Linked DNA regions of Homo sapiens: regions 1, 2 and 4 are each linked to region 3. Evidence: promoter capture Hi-C in 16 types of primary human blood cells and fetal thymus (Javierre and others, 2016). All regions are on one chromosome and are shown on one strand. Each heading gives the region's core, a stretch centred on a gene start or on the middle of the fragment in contact. The rest is flanking DNA. Distances are from core to core; before and after follow the strand shown.

What was found. The method cuts DNA at HindIII sites, captures the fragments that hold promoters and counts their contacts. A CHiCAGO score of 5 or more calls a contact.
Region 1: a contact is called between the fragment with the promoter of ATP6V0A1 here and the fragment with the promoter of ACLY in region 3, in 2 of 17 cell types (erythroblasts and M0 macrophages). The highest score is 13.6, in erythroblasts.
Region 2: the fragment with the promoter of PSMC3IP here is called in contact with the fragment with the promoter of ACLY in region 3 in 2 of 17 cell types (fetal thymus and erythroblasts); the score reaches 6.6 in fetal thymus.
Region 4: the fragment with the promoter of TUBG1 here is called in contact with the fragment with the promoter of ACLY in region 3 in 1 of 17 cell types (fetal thymus); the score reaches 5.0 in fetal thymus.

What each region holds. Positions count from the first base shown.
Region 1 is chr17:42,457,500-42,460,768 of GRCh38, reverse strand. ATP6V0A1 (ATPase H+ transporting V0 subunit a1) reads right to left here and starts at 1,891. Exons shown (of 22, transcript NM_001130021.3): 1 at 1,806-1,891. RefSeq lists a silencer at 1,822-2,031 and an enhancer at 2,182-2,271. The HindIII fragment of the contact is 8,228 bases long and covers 1-3,269 here.
Region 2 is chr17:42,575,908-42,579,016 of GRCh38, reverse strand. PSMC3IP (PSMC3 interacting protein) reads left to right here and starts at 1,288. Exons shown (of 8, transcript NM_016556.4): 1 at 1,288-1,364; 2 at 1,456-1,556; 3 at 1,715-1,804. The coding sequence starts at 1,331. RefSeq lists an enhancer at 937-1,026 and a silencer at 1,327-1,376. The HindIII fragment of the contact is 6,888 bases long and covers 342-3,109 here.
Region 3 is chr17:41,917,634-41,920,855 of GRCh38, reverse strand. ACLY (ATP citrate lyase) reads left to right here and starts at 1,905. Exons shown (of 29, transcript NM_001096.3): 1 at 1,905-1,976. RefSeq lists silencers at 1,523-1,782, 2,263-2,502. The HindIII fragment of the contact is 30,796 bases long and covers 1-3,222 here.
Region 4 is chr17:42,607,543-42,611,049 of GRCh38, reverse strand. It overlaps TUBG1 (tubulin gamma 1), which reads right to left and starts at 1,367. Exons shown (of 11, transcript NM_001070.5): 1 at 1,264-1,367; 2 at 830-942; 3 at 460-627. The coding sequence starts at 1,312. It overlaps RETREG3 (reticulophagy regulator family member 3), which reads left to right and starts at 1,676. Exons shown (of 9, transcript NM_178126.4): 1 at 1,676-1,964. The coding sequence starts at 1,726. RefSeq lists an enhancer at 1,685-1,794. The HindIII fragment of the contact is 4,939 bases long and covers 1-2,420 here.

The DNA of each region.
Region 1 (3,269 bases), core at 642-3,141, 540 kb before region 3:
CATTTACATTTCTAACACCCCATGAGGACAGGTCAACAACTGTTTTTGACACCCTGTCTAGAAAGATGGAAAGGAGAAATTGCAAAGGCAGTTCCTGAATTCTGTCCCACAGAGTGTCAGATGAAAAGTCACTTCCATTCCAGTCAACATCAGGATCAAATGACAATTATTTTGGGCAACTCAACTGATAAGAATGTATCCAGATTAAAGACAGGAACTGGGAACCTCAAACAACTCTTTAAATACCCAGGACACAATATTGAGGCAGTGAGTTTCACACTGCTCAATCTGTTTTTGCTAGTGCAGGAAACAAACAGAAGAGGCCTTCAATACCCTCTCATAAAGATGTCTGCCTTGTAACTATCCTTCTCCCTTCTACTGACAATGCGCATTTCTAAAAGCCCAAAGTTCTGGCACTATCCTAAAGCTATGGCTACACTAAAGGGTTTAATCTTCCAGATTCCTCAGAAAACAATATTTCCCCACTTAGGAATTCAAACAAATAACCGTCATCTGGAAAAAGCAACCAGTTTGCATATTAAGCTCAATTTCAAATCAAGCATGACAGGAACACACTGATAATGACAAAGCAGTTTTATCAAGCCACAGAGAATAAGCCTTCCACCTCTGCAGCTTTCTGTTTCTCAACCCTACCTTCAAGATTAATTACATTCTTCCATCTGTCAAATCTCATGAGCCAATAAAGGTTTCGTTTTAGTGCTGTCTTACTGTTGCCGGGTATGAGACAACTGGCGCTATCAGTGGTCCTGAAACTGCAATTATTTATTCTCGATCAGCTAATGTAAGGCACAGCCTGTCCAGTATCCAAACTCAGAAAAATGCACAGTATTTTTAGTGTCATAAGGGCATCTATACTGAGTACTGATAGATGAGTCTGACATCAAAGGAAGATTTACTCTTCTGGAAGGCTGGGAGACATTTTGAGAAATCTGAACGAACAAACCTTTGTGCATGTGATGTTCAAGACAGTAACACAAGCTCAGACATAAGCAAGGACTTCTCAAGAGAATATGCAGGCTGACTTTAAGATTCTGTACATCTGAATCATCCAAATCAGCTGTTACCGGCACCACCCTTAAACAAAGAGAGATTCTACAACCTCTAAACACATAAAATTAGGCCTGGTCAGCATAGTTCAGGAGCTGTGGATAATGATAAGCCTCCAACGAGTCGCCTCCGTCCTCCTGCTCTTTAATGATTATAGGTCTCCCAAGAATATCTCTATAGCAATGGAGGCTAACAGAAAACTAATTAGGCCAAAGTAGTTCTGGACGATCACAAAACAAAATATGAAGAAACAGCAATTCTGCAAAAGATGAGTCCAACTACAGCGCCCCCGCGCCCTGCCTAGAAGAATCTCACTCCTGTCATCCGGTCCTCGCCTCCTCCCACGGTATTCACCTGCTTCATTTCCTGTCTACCCAATGAGCAGGAATTCTCTGGACTCAGGCTCATCTACCTTGAGATGGGAAAAAAGGAGAGGAAAACCCCCAAACTGAGAAACCCTTTAAGAAGCCCCCTAAATTCTTCTGCCTATCCAATAACCTCCGGTTCCTCCGCCTACCCCTTAAAGCAGGGAAGAGATGCGGGGCTTCCAAAGGGCAGTGAGCCTCCGGTTCCTCAGGGCAGAGGAGGGGTGCCCAAGGAGGGGGCGAACCCCCATTTTATCTCGAAGACGTCAGATCCCCGCTAATTCCTCTGACAATCAAGGGGGCTCTTAGAAGGATTTCCTACGTCCATCGAGGGCCGCTCCCTGTTGCGCTAAACCTACAGCCCCCACTCACCTCCAAACTCCGCCACAGCAACCGCCACAGAAACCACCGCAGCCAAACCCGCACCCTCCGCGGCTCCAGGAGCAGCGCTTCGACGTGCTTGCGTCCGTAAAGCCCCGCCCCTGCGCCGCCGCCGGCCCCCGCCCCCGCAATGACCTCATTGCAGTTGGCCAATGGGGCGCAGCCTCGCCCGGGCTGCAGCAGTGCGGAGTCACGGGGGTCGCAGGCGAGACCCAGCGTGCTGACGCCATGTTGGCCCCTGTGCTGTATCTCCACGCTGGGGAGGGTTAGCGGGTGGGGCTGGAGGTGCAGGTGCTCGAGGCCTTAAGTTCCTGAGCCTCCCTGAATCCTTTTTCTTACCCCTTATACTGGGGTAGGTTGTCTTTTCTCTTTCTTTTTTTTTTTTTGAAGTCTCATTCTGTTGCTCAAGCAGGAGTGCAGTGGCGTGATCTCGGCCCACTGCAACCTCCACCTCCCGGGTTCAAGCGATTCTCCTGCCTCAGCCTCCCAAGTAGCTGGGACTACAGGCACGCACCACCATGCCCGGCTAATTTTTGTATTTTTTTTTTTTTTAAGTAGAGACGGGGTTTCACTATGTTGGCCAGGCTGAGTCTCGAATTCTGACCTCGTGATCCACCCGCCTCGGCCTCCCAAAGTGTTGGGATTACAAGCGTGAGCCACCACGCCCGGCCTTTTTTTTTTTTTTTTTTTTTTTTTTTTAGATGGTCTGTTTCCCAGGCGGGAATGCAGTGGCGCGTTCTCGGCTCACTGCAGCCTCCGCCTCCCGGGTTCAGGGGATTCTCCTGCCTCAGCCTCCCTAGTAGCTGAGATTACAGGCACGCACCACGCCACCCGGCTATTTTTGTATTTTTTGTAGAGATGGGGTTTCGCCATGTTGCCCAGACTGGTCCTGGCCTCCACCCGCCTCGGCCTCCCAAAGTGCTGGGATTACAGGTGTGAGCCACCGCGCCCGGCCCTCTCTTTATTTTCATATCCAAAGAATTAATTCACACATACGCACCCAAATAATTAATGTCTTCTCTCTTTATTTTCATATCCAAAGAATTCACACACACACTCAAATAATTAATACGCAGACACATATACCACCCTTTCTCTTTTCCCTTATTTTACAGATGAGAACATTTGAGCCCCAGACTGGGGAGCGGCTAGCTTTAGATCCTGTAGTAGAGTCTTTAACGGGGTCTCATTTGCATAAGTATGGAAAACCTCTCTTTAAATGGTACATGGTTCATGCCTTCCAGCAACTTCCCCGGGTCTATTTTTCTCTGTTTAACAGGAAAAACCTCATCAGACCATATGTTGTGAAAGTACATTTCAGTCTTGTTTGGTAGATTCATGTGGGCTCAATTGACCACTTAGGAGTTTTCAATTCCTCAAATTTATTTTAAAAACATTTTTTATGGCTTGTACTCAACTTGTAAATTAAATATTGAAAAACATTTTTTAAACGCA
Region 2 (3,109 bases), core at 39-2,538, 660 kb before region 3:
CCGCCCTGGCCTCCCAAAGTGCTGGGATTGCAGGCGTGAGCCACCGCGCTCGGCCCTTTCATTTCTAATTCTTAATATTGTCTCCTAAACGTGCAGAGACAAGCACACGTTTTAAAGGCTAAGGAGGTTGTAGGTAGCAGAAGGCTTTAAAAAGTAGCACCTTACTCCTTCACTGGATGGTCTGAGCTGCAGGGACAGCTGCTCTTTGGCCTTCAGCTCACCTCAGAAACTAGAAATATTTATTTCAGGCTCTGTCCCATTGGCCACTGTGGTCAGGGGTGGAAAGCACCTGCCAGGTGTTGCCCTGAGATTGTCTGGGCTAACAAACTTTTCCACAAGCTTTGTGGTTGAACAGTAGCCCCCTCCTAACCCTATCGTTCCTTGGCGTCCAAACTACAGTAGGTGTCGAGTGCCCCCTGGGTGCGAAGCTCGGTATTAGGCAAATAAGGGTGGTTGCTCTCCAAGGCGCTTAGCTGTCCCCCCTTCCCACTTTTTTTTTTTTTGTTCGAGACTGCGTCTCGCTCTGTCGCCAGGATGGGGTGCAGTGGCGCGCTCATAGTGGCTCACTGCAGCCTCGATGTCCGGGGCTCTGGTGACCCTCCCACCTCAGCCTCCAGAGTAGCTGGGACCACAGAAGCGCGCCACCACTCTTAATTTTTTGTACTTTATTTGCAGAGATGGGGTTTCATATTGCCCAGACTGGTTTCGAATTCCTGGGCTCAAACGATCCGCCCGCCTCAGCCTCCCAAAGTGATAGAATTGCAGGGGTGACATGCCACTGCGCCCGACCAAGGCGCTTAGCTTTCTATTAAGTTTTCACAACCACTTTCCTACCACTATCTACTGTTCCTATTTTACAAATGACAAAACTAACCGACAAAAGAGCACTGGACCGTGGGACCAGAGCACGTCCCTGTGGGGTAACCTTGAGCTGGTCGCTTGCCCAGGGCGGCAGCGGATGTCTGAAGCGTCTTCCAATCCCAACATTAGACTTAATTCAAGGTCACCAGTGCTCAGCTGCGGCTGGAACTGGGTCTCGAAACTTGAAGGCCTTCTCTGCTACAGCCTTCGTTCCCGGGAGCAGAAAGAGGAAGTTTCTTAGCCGTGGGCACGCCGGCGCCTTCGCAGAGGCCCATGGCTTGAGGTCCGGCCCGAATGCGCAAGTTCCGACCTGAAATGAACTATGGAGTCCGGGAGGGGTCGCTTTGCTCCTCCGGAAGGCTTCCCCTTCAGCCAATCACCGTTCGAGGCCCGCCCCCGTCGCCGGAAGGAGCCGTCGCCCCGAGCAACTACAACGTCCGGCTTTCTGAGTTGGGTGGCGGGAAAGGCGATGAGTAAAGGCCGGGCAGAAGCTGCGGCGGGAGGTAACGGCGCCGTGGGCGCGGGGAAGACCCGGGAGGGCAGTGGGTGAGGAGGTCGGTTGAGTGGCCCCCTCCCCTGCCTTTCTCTCCGTAGCCGCCGGGATCCTCCTGAGGTACCTGCAGGAGCAGAACCGGCCCTACAGCTCCCAGGATGTGTTCGGGAACCTACAGCGGGAACACGGACTGGGCAAGGCGGTGAGGACCTTCTCCCGGGATTCCCTCTCCGTCGGACTCCCTGGATTCAGGCTGGGGTCGTGCCCTTTGGAGCCTTGGGCGTTTTCCACATCACTGGCTGGATTTCCCCAGACCCAGGCTCAGACTCCTCTGATTGCTCCTTCTCTCTCCTCTGCCAGGTGGTGGTGAAGACGCTGGAGCAGCTGGCGCAACAAGGCAAGATCAAAGAGAAGATGTACGGCAAGCAGAAGATCTATTTTGCGGATCAGGTGAGGAGAACTTGCGCCGATTGTCACCCATGAGAGCCCGACAACGGGTGAATCTACTCCTGGTGTGAACTCTTTGGGGACAAGGCCCCCCATGGAAAACTCACCTGTCTTAGGCCACCATCCTTAAATCAAGGTGTGTACTCCTCTTGTTAGGATCCCAACTTCACGAGGTTTCCAGATTTACAATATGATGGATGACAGAAGATTCTGTATTGTTGCTACCAAGATCCATTTCCGCTCCAAAGCTCTTATTCCTTATCATCTACATTAGCAACACCCTCTGCCAAATGATGTTCCTCCTGCCTCCATCCGATTCTCTAAACACACATATCAAATTTATATTCTCCAGCCCAGACCTCCAGCTGGAATCTGTCAGGCATTAATATCAGAGTCAAAATTGCCACAGTAGAATGCCTCATCTTCCCCCCACCCCGGACTGGTTTCTTTCTAACATTCTCCTCCCCTAATGGAATTACTCTTCACCCAAACCAGAAATTGGGAGCAATTCTTGACTTCCTTTACTAGTCAACCATCAAGTCCAGCTGATTTTTCCGTTTTTATTTATTTTTTTAATTTTTATAGAGATGGGTCTTACTGTGCTGCCCAGGTTGGTCCCAACTCCTGGGCTCAAGTGATCCTCCTGTCTTGGCCTCCCAAAGTGCTGGGAGGACAGGCGTGAACCACAGAGCCTGGCTAATTTTTCCATTCTTGAATCCACTCTCCTTTCCATCTGCCATGGTTGCTCTAGTTCACGCCCTCTTTATTTGTTGCAGTATCCTCCTAACAGATCTTGGCTCTTCAAACATATCTTAAACTCTTAAACATTGCAGTCAGAATGATCTGTCTAAATAGATCTGGTCATGCACCTTCCCTATTTAAAACTCTTCAATGGCTCTCTAGTGCTGCAAAAAACATGTAAAAGGCACCGGAAGACGCCCCAGCCAGCCTCTGGCCTCACCAATCCTCATTATTTTTCTATCCACGAACACTAGATAATTCTGGTGTGTTTTACTGCTCTGTCCTTTGCATGTTGTCTTCCCTGTACCTGCTTCTCTTCCTGGCCAGCTCTTTCTTTCCTTGAGGATTTCACTTAGACATCACCTTTTCCAGAAATCTTCCTTGAATGCTCCGAGCTAATTGTTTCTTTTTCAGGCCCTTATCTCTTTTTGTTATTGTTGTTGTTGTTGTTGTTGAGACGGAGTCTCGCTCTGTCACCCAGGCTGGAGTGCAGTGGCACAATCTCGGCTCACTATAAGCTCCACCTCCTGGGTTCACGCCATTCCCCCGCCTCAGCCTCCCAGAGTA
Region 3 (3,222 bases), core at 656-3,155:
GCTTGACCTCGAACTCAGGTGATCTACCCACCTAGGCCTCCCAAATTGCTGGGATTACAGGCATGTGAATCACCACGCCCGGTCTTTTTATTTTTTGTAGAGATTTGATGGTGGTGGTGGGGGCTCTTACCATGTTACCCAGGCTGTACTTGAACTTCTGGGCTCTAGCAATCTGCCTGACTTGGCCTTCCAAAATTCTGGGATTACAGGCATGAGACAGCATGCCTTGCCTGGAGTGTATCTTTTTTTTTTTTTTTTTTTTTTTGAGATAGAATCCTTCTCTGTCACCCAGGTTGGAGTGCAGTGGTGCAATCTCACCTCACTGCAACCTCCACCTCCCGGGTTTAAGCGATTCTCATGCCTCAACCTCAAGAGTAGCTGGGATTTATAGGCGTGTGCCACCATGCCTGGCTAATTTTTGTATTTTTTGTAGAGATGGGGTTTTGCCTTGTTGGTCTTGAACTCCTGACCTCAAGTGATCCCCCACCTTGGCCTTCCAAAGTGCTGGGATTACAGGTGTGAGCCACCAAGACTGGCCACCCCCATTTTAGGACAAGAGAAGAGAGGTGATAAGGAACTGCTATTTCAAAAAGATGAATGGGAGGGAAGGGACCAGAAAGTGACATCATCAGGGAACACTTGATTCAGGCATGGGTAGCAAGTTCAGTTACCTTACTCCTGGCAGCAACAGGATTGGGGGAGGGGGTCTTGGAGAAGATTTTGTCTGCAAATGTCGCAACACTGTTGCAGTGTGAGTATGACCCAAAGTGCTTGGCAGGGGGACAGGCCTGCTGCTTCCCTGCATTCTGGGCTGACCTCTTCACCTGAGTCGGTCAGTGGACGCTTTTGGCCTCCTTCCTGGAGCTAGACAGCTGTTAGGCTTAGGGAGCAGCTCCGGACCTACAGGGTTGGGGTGCAGGTAGGGAGGGAGGCTGCAGCATGTCAGAGTGGTAAATACATGTCCTGATTTCCAGGACTGATTTCACATATTCTGCCCCACAAGTTCACCAGCACCTGTCAGATTGGATGTCCCAGTTTTTGGTTTGGAAAATTCGATCTGTCTCAGGTAATGGAGAAGGGGGAGACAGCAGTTCATTCATTCCAGTGTCTAAGCCTGTGGTTGGTGGGAACAAGAGACTGTCTGGGATGGCTCCAGCCCTTCGCTGGAATCTCGCATTGAATTCCTAGCTCCGCCCTGATCCGTGCTGAGGCGAGCAGGTGAGTGGGACGGACAGCGCTGTGCCTGCACCCTCCTAGCCCCACTTGCTTACCGCGGCCCCTGCCTTATCCCACACTGGGAAGTATGCTCTGTTAGCCTCGGCTCAGCCTTGCCTCATCGGCCCAGTGGGGAGAGTCCAGGGAGGAGAGAGGCTCCACGTGCTAAAGGAAAGCGGCCTGCCAGACACTGCTGCTTAAGGAGACTGTCTAAGCAATCGGATTCGGTGCGGCCGAGATGCAGACGTCCGTTTCTCCCAAGGGAAGGAGCAAGGGTACTCCAGGTCCCAAAGCTGCGTTACAGCCAGTTGGGCTAATCCTACCCGCCCCTCCCCCAACTCCCCGAGTGGCAATCTGTCCAGCCCCTCAAGCGATCAGGCCACAACCCCCAGCACCGCGCGTTCTCCTCCCAGCCTAGCCCGGCCCATCTCCCCACCCGGGGCCCCGCCCCGGCCCCGCAGGCTCCCAAGAGGCGGTGGATGGGCCAGCGGGACTACAAGTCCCAGCAGGCCCCGGGGCCCGCCCTCGTGGGGCGGAGCCAAGCCAGCAGCGAATTGGGAGGAGCCCTGGCGCTCAGGCTAGGGAACGCGTGTGGCCAATCGCGGGGCCGTTCTCGCCGCGAGCCGATGGGGGCGGGGAAAAGTCCGGCTGGGCCGGGACAAAAGCCGGATCCCGGGAAGCTACCGGCTGCTGGGGTGCTCCGGATTTTGCGGGGTTCGTCGGGCCTGTGGAAGAAGCGCCGCGCACGGACTTCGGCAGAGGTGAGCACGGGAGGCTGTTTTCGCTGGCTGGAGCCCGCTCGCCCTAGGAGCTTCCTGCCTCCGTCCCCCAACCCGGAACCGCCTTCCCCGACGCGGGCTCGGTGCCCACGCGCCCTGCTCGGAAGTTTTGAGGGTCTTAGCTTTAGGTTAGCCTTCGCCCGGGGTCCCGGCCGGTGGCCGCGTGTCGACGCCCCTCCCCTCCCCCCGCGCGACACACACATATTCCAGTTCCTGGGAGTTTGCATGGGGCTTGCCGCCATCCTTGCCTCTTCTGCCTCTGCCACATTGCATGGTCCCCCTCCTGGCGCGCCTCACCCCTCCCGGGCACAGCTATCGAGGCTCCTCGGGCTCATCGGGACGCCTTTTGGCTCCATCCGGGTTCCCCCATCGGATGCCGGGACGGGAAGTAGAGAAAGCGGTGGCGACTGGTCCCACTCCGATTCCTCACTGGCCGGGCTCAGGCCCTTCTTGGTTCCGTGGGTACAAAATTGAGCTCCACGCCCAAGTGGAGAGAATGAGCTATGCGCGCCTCCGGGGCGGGCCACGCGGGGCCAGGCTGCCCCAGGGTGCCCGAGGCCTCGCCTCGTCTCGCCGCGAGGACTGGAATCTCGCAGCAAGGACCCTCCTCGCACTGGAGGTATCGTCGAGTCCAGCCCCTAAGTGACAGATGGCCGGGGTGCCACCCCACCCTTGAGCTGACGCCAAGTCTGGCCGGGGAAAGGTCCTCAAGGGGCTGGAGGATGCTGCCGCCGCCCTCCTGTCGAGCCTGGCAATGGGCCAGTCCCAGCGCCTGCCGCGGTCTCCAACCTTGGCAGATACCGTGCAGTGCCGAGTTCTGCCGTTATGGGGTCCCTGGAGGTCTTCCTGGGAAGAGGATTTTGGAAGAGACGATAAGGAAAAGTGCACAGCACAGTTTGGCCAGCTAGCCTACTCCTCTCCACCCTTAACTTTCCTCTGTGTTTTCAGCTGGCTCAGCTGAACTAAAATGTGGGGTGAGGGACAGCTGGTAGGTCTCATTTGCCCAGATGGGTGATTTTCACCTCTTAGAAACCTTCCTAAACAGCTTGGGGGGCGGTAGTGGGAAGACCCCTCAGACACTGGACAGCTTATGGCTCCATCCCCGTTCTGACACTATGCCTGCCGCAGTAAGGGGCACTCACAGAATTCTGCCTCTCTAGAATTTACTCCAGGGATTGCCTGTCTTCTCAAAAAATAAATAAATAAATACCTACATACGTAAGTCCCA
Region 4 (3,507 bases), core at 118-2,617, 690 kb before region 3:
CAGTGAGCTGAGAGCGTGCCACTGCACTCCAGCCTGGGCGACAGAGTGAGACTCCGTCTCAAAAAAAATAAATAAATAAAAATTAAAAAAAAGAAACTATAAAACAGCCTGTCTTCATTGAAATTTGTTTTTGCTGATAAACTAGTTATGAAATGTCCTTTGGTTTCATGGCTTTCTGGATCCTGGAAAGGCAGATAAGGGACTGTGGACCTGTAGTACTTACTTCTAGGGTTGTTGGGAGATTTAGAAAAATTAATATATGTAAAGCACTTAGAATGACCTGGCACACTGCATTAGCTAGTGTAGGCGCTTGACAATATTACATAGTCCACTCCCTGCAGCCAGGTCTCTCCCTCCAGCATTCATACATCCCTGATCCGGTTTTCCCTCTCTTCGGGACGTCATAGAGCCTGTCCCTACCCAGCGAGTTGTGGGCCCTGCCAGGGAATAGGAAACGACCTGGGAGAATCCGCTGGCCCAGTTGTTGCCAGCTCCTCCTCCATGTTCCGACAGGTAGATGTTCTCTGGGTTGTAGAGCTTGGCATAGGGGGAGTTGAGGATGGAGTGGATCACCCGGGGTTCCAAGTCCAGCAGCACGGCCCGGGGGATGTAGTGCTCATCGTCTGCCTGTCAAGGGGAGTCCAGGAGGGGGCCCAATCAGCTAGGGCGGCCCAAGTCCGAAGTCCTCCCAACTCTGGCTCCCTCCGGCCCTCCCTCCTCAAGCCAGCCGCCTGGCCCTACTGCCCAGCGGGGTTCCCAGTACCAGGCCACTCCCTTCCCTTCCGCCCCCTTGGGCAACTGCCGCCCCCGGCCAAGTCGCTGGGGGCACCTGGTAGAAAAAGACGTCCTTGCGGTCAGTGCCCTCGGTGGCGAACTCCTCCACGATGCCCTCGGGGCTGATACCATGCTCGGCGCACAGCTGTTTCCAGAACTCGAACCCAACTGGGGGGAAGGGGCGGGCAGGGGAGAAAGAAGATATCTAGGTCCGGGCAGGTTCCAATCAGGAGCCGGGGGACTGGGCGCCTGCGTCCAGGGATAAGAAGTCAAGCCGCAGGACTCTCCCGTGTCTGAGGAAAGGACTGTACGCCAGGGACTGGGCAGGGGAGGGCCCCTCGGGGTTGGGCAAGTGGACACTGGGTCAGGGATGTCTCGCCTTTCAGAGAACTACGATTCTGGCAAGGACAGATGGAGTCCAGGATCCCACAGCGAGATCCCATTGACCCTAAGGAACCTGGCTAGCTGAGGGGCCGGAGTTTCGCTCACTCTGATTGCCGCACTGGCCCAACTGTAGGGTGATGATTTCCCTCGGCATCGCTCCTCAGGCACCGGCGTTGCAGCCGCTCCCGCCCGCAACGGCGCCGCACGCCAGCCCGCTCGCCGCAAGACGCAGGCGCCAAACAACCAGCTCCACCCACGAACTTCCTCCGCTCCAATGAGAATCGAGTTCTGGCAATGAATGGCACGTCTTTAAGCACTGGCCTTCGTTCATGCAGATTGCGCGTGCGCGGCTCCGGATGCGGCTCGGCGCCTCCGGATCCGGCTCCGCGCCTCAGTGAGGGCGGGGTACGGCGTCCTCCCTCCCCTCTGGGTGGGCGCCTGCTTGGGCCTGCGCGCAAGCGCGCTGTGGTGCGAAGCCACCTCCCCCGCCGAATCGCGCATCTGCGCAGTTGCTGTTATTGTGACTTGTCGGGCCACGGCCCCGGATGTTGTGGCTGCCGCGGGGAGATGGCTGAGGCCGAAGGGGTTCCCACGACCCCAGGCCCGGCTTCGGGGTCGACTTTCAGGGGCCGCCGAGATGTGTCAGGCTCCTGGGAGCGGGACCAGCAGGTTGAGGCGGCGCAGCGGGCCCTGGTGGAGGTGCTGGGGCCTTACGAGCCTCTGCTGAGTCGGGTGCAGGCAGCCCTGGTGTGGGAGCGGCCAGCTAGGAGCGCTCTGTGGTGCCTGGGGCTGAACGCGGCTTTCTGGTGAGAGAACTGGACCCTCGGAAACCCTCCGAGTCCCGAATTCGTTGGTTCCTCTAGGGCTCTACTTCTCGCCTGCCCTGTTTTCTTCGCTGCACTGGCTCCTTCCTGTACTTGCCTAATTTTGCCTCACCTCCTTCCACTCCATCCCGCCTGCAGGCTTCGGCACCCTAGTTCTTCCCAGGGCCGTCCACCCATCTTCTCTGCCTTACCTGTGCCCGCACCCCCGCCCCGCACATCTGGCGGGAGCTTCTGGTAACATCTTGAGCCGCTCAAGAGTGAGCGAGGGCTCCTCTTTTGAGCCCGACAAAGCTGCGTCCCTTTAAAGCCATCACTTCCTTTCTCTTGTCTGCTCAAGTGCAAGTTCTAGATTGTTTCCAGAGGTTTTAGTAGTTTATTGTTGGAGTAGAGGCGTGAAGTCTTGCAAAGGTATCCATAGGTGTGATTATAAAACAAGCTTGAGCGATTCGCATGAATTAGCATGTTATATATCTAGGAAGGAAGTTTATGAAGTCTAAGCGTCAGTGTGAGCCCCCAAAGCTGAAAATTGAAAGAAAATTACAAGCTTTTAAAGAACAGTTAGGAAATGATGACGGAGATTACACGCGTGTCAAAGCCACCTGTGATTGTAACTCCTCCCTGTTCCAAGGAATTAGAGAGGCATCCTTAGCCATGGTTTATAGGCAAGGAAATTGATGTCTAATACTGTGTGTGAGTTTTCCTGAGCTGGAAAAGTAGCACTGTAAATATGCTTTATTTGTGTGTGTCATGCTCTGTGAAAATGGAACTGCTGCTTCTCTCAGTTGTCATCACCTGAAGTGGACCTAGGACTTCATAGGATCTACCAACCATAATTTTGGATTTATTTGTAATGGAGGAGGTTCCAAGGGAACTGACTTATAGGGGGCTTTCTGCTGCTGAATGGATTAAGACTATTCTGGATAAGCCTGAAACAACAAAATATGTGTGTTTTTTAATTGTGTTTTTGCTAAAAATAGCTTTCCCCTTAAAATTTGTTTTAAAATCAAAACATTTATTATCCTTTATCTGAAAGATTTTCAGTGAGCTGAAGCAGAACAAATAATTCCAAGTTCATTGACCCGAAAACAGTGTTCAGCTATTAAGCTAATCCTCTCCCAGTTTGAAAGAGACCCAGTTAAAGGTGTCACAGTAGTCTCTGGCATTTGTGGCTTCCAGAGCCTTTAGCAAACTCGATGGTAAACTTTTCCTACCACGTTCTTCATTTATTTTTGGTAGTGCTTTTTCCCTTTTTTTTTTTTTTAAGACAGAGTTTCACTCTTATTGCCCAGGCTGGAGTGCAATGGCGTGATCTCGGCTCACTGCAACCTCCGCCTCCCAGATTCAAGCATTTCTCCTGCCTCAGCCCCCCAAGTAGCTGGGATTACAGGCATGAACCACCACAACCGGCTAATTTTGTATTTTTTTAGTAGAGATGGGGTTTCTCCATGTTGGTCAGGCTGGTCTCGAACTCCCGAGGTCAGGTGATCTGCCTGCCTCGGCCTCCCAAAGTGCTGGGATTACAGGC